2 separate regions of the Homo sapiens genome follow, and region 1 is linked to region 2. Evidence: promoter capture Hi-C in 16 types of primary human blood cells and fetal thymus (Javierre and others, 2016). All regions are on one chromosome and are shown on one strand. Each heading gives the region's core, a stretch centred on a gene start or on the middle of the fragment in contact. The rest is flanking DNA. Distances are from core to core; before and after follow the strand shown. Region 1 overlaps RIC1 (RIC1 partner of RAB6A GEF complex). Region 2 holds the start of INSL4 (insulin like 4).

Region 1 (3,686 bases), core at 201-2,700, 520 kb after region 2:
CTCCTGACCTTGTGATCCACCTGCCTCAGCCTCCCAAAGTACTGGGATTACAGGCGTGAGCCACCGCACCCAGCCAAAGCAAGCACCAGCAAGCACCAGCCAAGGTGCTTTTTAAAAAGTTTTTTCTTACCTATAAGTTTTAAAACTTTTGAAGTCATTTGTTGACATATGGGGCACAAACTATTGAAATTTTACAGAACACAAAGTTTCTAGTTTTAGGCCATGTTCCTTCTAAGACTGCCATTTATTTTAATGCTCAGTATTTTGTATGATGTAAGCATTTACTTCTGAAAGGTACATAAATCTATTATCCATTGTTCTGAGGGTGTTGGTTTGATGGTTAGCTTGGCTATTTAGAAAGAATAAGCTTCACAAAATGTGGAAGATAAGCACCTACAGGGTATCAGGCACTATGTTAGGGATTTCAACAGAGAGTATTTAAAGGCTCTTTCATTCATAAATTATTTACTGTCTTCCTACAGTATGTATCAAGTGTACCAGGTATTTGGCACAGAACAAATCTGCTAGGAGGATGGCTCCCACAGTCTCACTAGTTATAGACAAAACTAATCTAGGCAGGAGACAGAGTTTTAGCAGAGTTACTTTAAAATTTAAAAATCATAATAACAAATGAGGGCGGATTCAGTTTCTTTAAGAGAAACTGAAACATTCTAAGATAAGGGTAGAGTTTCTGTACCTTAGCACTCAGTTTTCCAGTGATGTGGCATGACTTCAGTGCCCTGAGTGTGCTTTCATGACCTGTTTTTTTTGTCACTGATCAGCTGCCTCTTCCTTACTTCTGCCATTCCCTTTTATCAAGTATTAGAGGTAGAGCTCAGAGTTCAGATGACACATAGATCAATAAAGTTGACCTACTGGAGAAAATACATAGTATCTTTAGACACAAACTGCATGAAAAATAAAGCTTCATTCTAAACTTAACACCTTAAGTTTTTAAAATACATCATTTGTGGCACTTCATAGATTTTTGTAGAATAAAGAATAAATTGTTTTATAGATATTGATCATAGTGTGATCATTTGATAAGATTTAACTTTGGTTCCCATTATTAGAAACTCTTTGTGTTAGAATCCACTTTTGCAGTAAGATCCCAGCTCCTCCATTACCCACCCACACGTTTCATAAGTACTCATGAAACACCAAGGTTTGAGGGAGGTAAGGATTCCTTTTAGTGCAATGGATGATTGACACAGTTATACTCAGGTACATCCTCCTGCTGTGAGTGACTGCTGAAAAAAGTTGAAAATGCTTTCAAGTTTTATTTCACCACCCAATCATTACCTTAAGTGTACCATTATTCTGAACTAATTTTACCCATCATAGTGATCTTTTTGGGGGTCTGGGGGGCAGGGAGACAGAGTCTCACTCTGTTGCCCAGGCTGGAGTGCAGTGGTGCAATCTCGGCTCACTGCAACCTCCGCCTCCAGGGTTCAGGTGATTCTCCTGCGTCAGCTTCCCGAGTAGCTGGGATTGCCGGCACCTGCCATCACGCCTGGCTAATTTTTGTATTTTTAGTAGAGACGGGTTTCACCATGCTGGCCGGGCTGGTCTCAAACTCCTGACCTCAGGCAATCTGCCTGCCTCAGCCTCCCAAAGTGCTGGGATTACAGGCATGAGCCACGGTGCCTGGCCCATAGTGAATTTTATTAATTTATTAAGCTATTGATTTAGTTGGATTTTAAGTTGACTTAAGTCAACTTAATAAGTATAACAAATAATTAGTAAGTAAAGCACTTGATAATAAGTGAAGTATAACAAACAGTTTTATCAAATTTTATCAAGGTTAATACAGATGTTTAGAGCATATTGCTTTTACTTAATTTTCTGTCTTCACATTACATACACAATCTTACTGGGTTTGATTGCTGTTGACTTAGCTTTTTAATTTGGCATTTAGTTTTTCAATATGTGACAACTTTTCTTAGAGTAAAATGAAAAATAAATTTGAACAGATCGAAGCTTTTCTTATTCCAAGAACAGAAGACTCTTTGTTCAGTTCTGTTAATTCTCGCCCCACTCCAACATGTGCTCATGAAAACTAATCAGCAGGCTAGAGAGATCAATCTCATTAAAACGAAAATTTACTTTATCTACATTGATATCCCATGTCAATTATTTAAATTGAAAGGTGTTGTTAGGGTGATACAAAGACACCATGTTCAAAGATGTAAGACAGACAACGTGGAAAAATGAACGCCTTTTCTTGCAGATAGAGTTAATATTTGTAATATATTAAAAGTTCTTGTAGATAAGTAAGTCAAATACCCCAATAGAAAAATAATAGCTTACATACACTCTTTCATGTACATATATATATGTTTGTTTAGAGATAGAATAAAAGCTAACCAGTGGTTGTACCTAAGTAACAGAGAATTTCATTTTGTCAATTTTTATATTGCATAATTTCATAAGTTTTTTTTTGTTTTTTTTTTTTGGAGACGGAGTTTCGCTCTTATTCCCCAGGCTGGAGTGCAGTGGCGCGATCCTGGCTCACTGCAACCTCTGCCTCCCGGGTTCAAGCGATTGTCCTGCCTCAGTCTCCCATGTAGTTGGGACTACAGGCATGCACCATCATGCACGGTTTCGTATTTTTAATAGAGACGAGATTTCGCCATGTTGGTCAGGCTGGTCACAAACTCCTGACCTCAGGTGATCCACCTGCCTCGGCCTCCCAAAGTGCTGGGATTACAGGCGTGAGCAACCACACCTGGCCTAAGCATTGCTGTTTTAATCAGAAAAGTGTAAAAGTAATAAAAATATTTCCATTAAAAACCAGAACTTTTTCTGAGGCTGTAATTGTATTAGATTAGGTTGTTTTGGAATGGTTTATATCAGCAAACCCAAACTGTTCATCTGCACAATTCATAGCTGCCCTCACAGGTGCCTTCTCTGAAAATCTCTTGTCAGTCTGTATTTATTGAATTCAATATTTAAAACAAACAGAAACATAAGGGGCAAGGGGCAGGGAGAGGAAAGCCTGGTGCCTAGAAACATGAAATAACGTAAGATGTAAAACATTGATTCATATACAAATGGTAAATTCCAAGTGCTCTGCTACTAACTAGGGGGCACCTTAAACATTGTTCGGCAAGATGAATCTCATAGTGTGATAACTTAATGCTTTAAGTTTAAATATATTTCATAAGTTTTACCAATCTGATGTGTTATTTTCTATAGATTTCCAGCACCTATCTAGAGAGCAATTGGCCTATACGGGTGAGTTGTTATTTTGTTGGTGTTAACTTTTGTTGACTAGCATTTGCTGCAAGAGGCATTCTGGGAAGAGCCCTTCAGTGGGTGTACTGAGAAAAATAAAACTCTTGATCTATTGTAACATTGCTAGTATATTAACATCTATAATTTTGTCAGATATAACTGAATATTTGGACTTTAAAATATTTAATTAGCAAACATTTATTAATTGTCTGTTTGCCTGACACAATACTAAGCTCTTTATGCCTAATAAAGTATATAGGTTTGCAAGGAAAAGTTCTTATTTTTTTTTTTAAACAGTTTTCAGCTATTGATAAGCTTGGACAGAATATTGCTGTGGTTGGCAAGTTTGGTTTTGCACATTACTCTTTACTCACCAAAAAATGGAAACTTTTTGGAAACATTACCCAGGTTAGTCTTTTTTGAGATTAAAAACCTATTTCTCAAAGTAT
Region 2 (4,086 bases), core at 674-3,173:
ATGTTGCCTGGGACATCTTAGCACCTCCCTTGACACCTGGCATGGGACATATCATAATTACAGTAACAACTATACTATAACCTTTATTCATAATCACACTGATCAGTCCCTAATTTGCAACTCCATCCATATGTTTTCCTTATGGGAACTAATATTTCTATTACAACCCAAAATTCCATGTTTGTGACCCGGGTGCAAGGACAGGCTTTGTTTGCCTCATGTACCACTAATTACAATATATCTAATTTAAATACTACTAGTGTCATGGTATTAAGGAGACAATCTGAGGCATTCCTACCCGTCAATTTGACACACTATTGGCAAGGTTCCTCTTCCTTTGCCACCTTAGAATGTGCCCTATCCCAGGTCAGACCCAAAAGATTTATAGGCACACTTATAACCTTTATAGTCTCAGCCATAGTCATCCTAGCAACTGCTAGTGTGGCTATAGCATCTACTACCGAATCAGTGCAAACAGCTGCTTTTGTAGACAATTTGGCCAGAAATGTGTCTAATGAACTTCTCTTACAGCAGGGTATAGATCAAGAGATTCTTGCACGTCTGCAAGCCCTCGAGGCTGCCTTGGAATTTGTGGGGGAGCGACAAGATGCCCTAGCATTCTGATAGCAATTAAACTGTGACTGGGAGCATAAACATATCTGTGTCACATTTTTACCTTGGAATCAATCAATACATAGTTGGGATGAGGTGAAACAACACCTCTGGGGAAACTTTCATGACAATTTAACAGCAGACGTAAAGCAACTTAAAACTAAAATTTTAGAATCCCTTCACATGATAGATCTACATACTCAACAAACAGCCATATGGAAAGGTGTGCAAGATCATTTCTCCTGGTTATACCCCCGATCCTGGGGGTCACACTTTGACTGGAAAGGAATGTTACTAATTATACTCATGATTGTCTTACGTTATTTGCTAATTCTATGATGCAAAGCCGGAATAAAAGCAAAACCTAACAAACCTGTTGCTGCACACATCTGTACTCTTAAGTCAACAGAACCCGATGCAAAGAACAGAAAGGGGGGAGATGTGAGAGTTCAGTCAGGCTGGTGGGAAAATTTTTTCAGATAGTTATAAGAAAAAGACGCAAACCTTTTTGAAACGCCGGAGGGGTTTGTATAAGCTCCAGTAATAGATCAGGCTGAAGGCAGCCTAATCCTTACCTTGAGTTAATAGCTTAAGGCACAGATACAAATGAATGTAGTTTATCTAGTTTGTTTACTCATGTGGTCCTAAGACTAATCTTTGATCAACCGCGGGTGCATAATTGCTCTCTACTCGGGAGGTTGGCAATGTCAATTACCTTCTAGTGGTGTTTACTCAAGACCTTCGTCATTTAATCTATGCTGAATAAATGTGAGCTTTGCTGGCTGATCGGGGCCACGGCTGCAACTCTTTACAGCACCCTCCTTGGTGTCTGTAGGTGGCCCGGACCCTCAGCTGGACTGACAGGCAAACTATCTGTGTCAGTGTATGTTATTCATCCGTCGTTGGGTCAGGGTCTGTGGGACAGACCCCCGCAATTAAAAGCTTATATGCCAAATGTTAACTAAGATAATTTCTAGCCAATGAGCTTACAGGTCAGTTCTATTTTTATTTCATCTAAGCAAAGGACATTAAAAATTACCATTATTTTAGTAAGCATAAAAATAGTATTACAGGAGGAAAGTTAAGAAAAAGAAGTAGAACAACCAAATTCAAAACAAGCAAAGTGCAGCAGCACATTGGGAGCAAAGAGGGATATGAGAGTGTGGGTAGGGCAAGTAGGGAGACTAAATAAGAACTGAGGGAGAAAGTTCCTTGTAGGTGGGTGGGAAAGGGGTGGAACTGACACCATTGACGCAAAAGCTGAGTAATAGCCCTAAGCAAATAAATGCCTGATGAAGGCATGCAGAAAGCAGTCTGGAGCCCAGAAGGGACACACCAGCACAGTCTGGTAGGCTACAGCAGCAAGTCTCTAAAGAAAGGCTGAGAACACCCAGAACAGGAGAGTTCAGGTCCAGGATGGCCAGCCTGTTCCGGTCCTATCTGCCAGCAATCTGGCTGCTGCTGAGCCAACTCCTTAGAGAAAGCCTAGCAGCAGAGCTGAGGGGATGTGGTCCCCGATTTGGAAAACACTTGCTGTCATATTGCCCCATGCCTGAGAAGACATTCACCACCACCCCAGGAGGGTGGCTGCTGGAATCTGGACGTCCCAAAGGTGAGAGCCCTGGACTACCAAACAATCAGAATGAGGCCTGAAAAAACAGGCTCCAGATCTCATTGACTGCCTGTAGTCAACTCAGACTCTACTGTGGCTAGTGCCTACAAGTTTGTGGTTTTTCATTGTAATGTGCTTTTATTAAAAGGGTCTCACCAGAAATCTCATGGGAAGTTGGGGGTAGAGGAGAAGCTGCAGGAAAAACAGAAGAACAGCCTCACCTTGGAGGCTCTTGGTGCCTTTCCCACCTGGCAGCCAGAGATACAGGGTGGAGAAAACAGGGAATCCTCAGAGAAGGTGACTATTCTCAAACACCAGCAGGAGGTGAGGTGTACTCCCAGACCCCCAGGAAAGCTGGGCAGGCCAGAAAACAGGTGTGATTGCAATGAGATGCCTGGGCCAGGCATCTTCAATTAAGAAGAAAGGGGACAAACAGTGAGGTGATGAGCTGATTATCATTTCTGTTTATGCACCTATTGGCCTAGGGGCAGCACACTGAGACCTCTGTTAGGTTCCTGGAATGTGAGATAAAGGGGGCTTAGATTTAATAACTCTCATCCTTTGTCATTAAGCTGGGCAGTGGTCTATGTCACCAAAAACGTCCTCTTACAAAAAAGTTTTTTTTAATGCACACCAACAGAGCACCTTGCCTCCCATTTCTTTGAATCTACTCTTGTAGTGTGTTGAGAGAGATGAGATGAAGAGAAAGAAAGTGGCCTGGATGACTAGAGGGGAAATTGAAGGGGACCAGAGACAAGGGAATTTCACTGTTCAGACCATCATAGCTGATTTGATTAGTGTTTTCAACATTTGAGACTGCAAAGCATTTTCTTTAAAAGCAAGATTTCAGAATTGAGGAAAGTTCAATACCAGGATAGTTTTCAAACTTTACCAAGTAACAAGGTATTCATAAAGATAAATTGCCAGCTAAGTTAAAACTAGCAGGGGCAGTTTCGAAAAGAGATAGAGGCTACTATATTCTGTCTAATAGGTCGTATTAAGTTCTGAAAAGCTAAGTTAAATTACTAAACATTGTTTTACATTTAATACAAATGACACAGGTTTTGAACCAGCAATGTGTGACTCCAGAACTGCTTCTTGTAACCCATATGCATACACTTCATTAAATCATTAAATGACTCTGTTTAAAGTTATCGTGCACAGTGAATGCACTTGGATTTTGTGTGATTTATATAACGATTTCAAAGTTATTTCCTTTTTTTACATTATTAGTCAGAGCTTGTTTCATTTTACTATAAAATAAGGGAAGAATACCACAAAGTCCAAACAATTTCTAATGCAAACTAAGGAAGAGCATGCTGTACTATAATTTCTATTTAAATTTCACTTTTTTTCAGTAAATAAGTGAAAATCCTCATTTAAATACTTTGACAAATATAGATAAATTTAACAAGAAAAATGGAAAGTATTCATGGATAACAAATGTTAACATTTGGTGTCGACACATATAGATGTATGTTGCTTCTCAGCCTTTTAGCTAAGATCCACTGATATAGATGTATAGATTTATGTGGATCAGATTTGAATATCTGAATCTTTCTATTAGAATAACTTGTGATTATAAAAAAAATTCCCTATTGCTATCCAGTACATAATGCATTGAGGTTATCAATCAAAACAGTGTCAGGGAGAGTCAAAAGTGGTATGGTATAGGCATTTAGAGGGTCATTAGAAGAGTGCATAGAGGGGACAGGATGAGGAGTTAGCATATCCTTAATATTGTAGTATCTTAAAGTGCCCTACTCTAAGTAAGCTAAGTTGTTGAAATGTTAGGATACTTGCTGATTCTCTCTGGTGTTTAATTACATGGAGGCAATGGGTACATTGTGGTCTAGGCAAAT

What was found. Contacts are between HindIII fragments. The CHiCAGO score rates a contact against its expected background, and 5 or more counts as called.
Region 1: a contact is called between a fragment that was not itself captured here and the fragment with the promoter of INSL4 in region 2, in 2 of 17 cell types (naive B cells and naive CD4 T cells). The highest score is 5.5, in naive B cells.

Annotation. Positions count from the first base shown.
Region 1 is chr9:5,750,002-5,753,687 of GRCh38, forward strand. RIC1 (RIC1 partner of RAB6A GEF complex) reads left to right here. Exons shown (of 26, transcript NM_020829.4): 13 at 3,199-3,237; 14 at 3,535-3,645. Among named protein-coding and RNA genes, the nearest start is that of ERMP1, 81 kb to the right of the region's middle. The HindIII fragment of the contact is 1,055 bases long and covers 924-1,978 here.
Region 2 is chr9:5,229,496-5,233,581 of GRCh38, forward strand. INSL4 (insulin like 4) reads left to right here and starts at 1,924. Exons shown (of 2, transcript NM_002195.2): 1 at 1,924-2,224. The coding sequence starts at 2,029. RefSeq lists a promoter at 1,201-2,018. The HindIII fragment of the contact is 5,637 bases long and covers 1,553-4,086 here.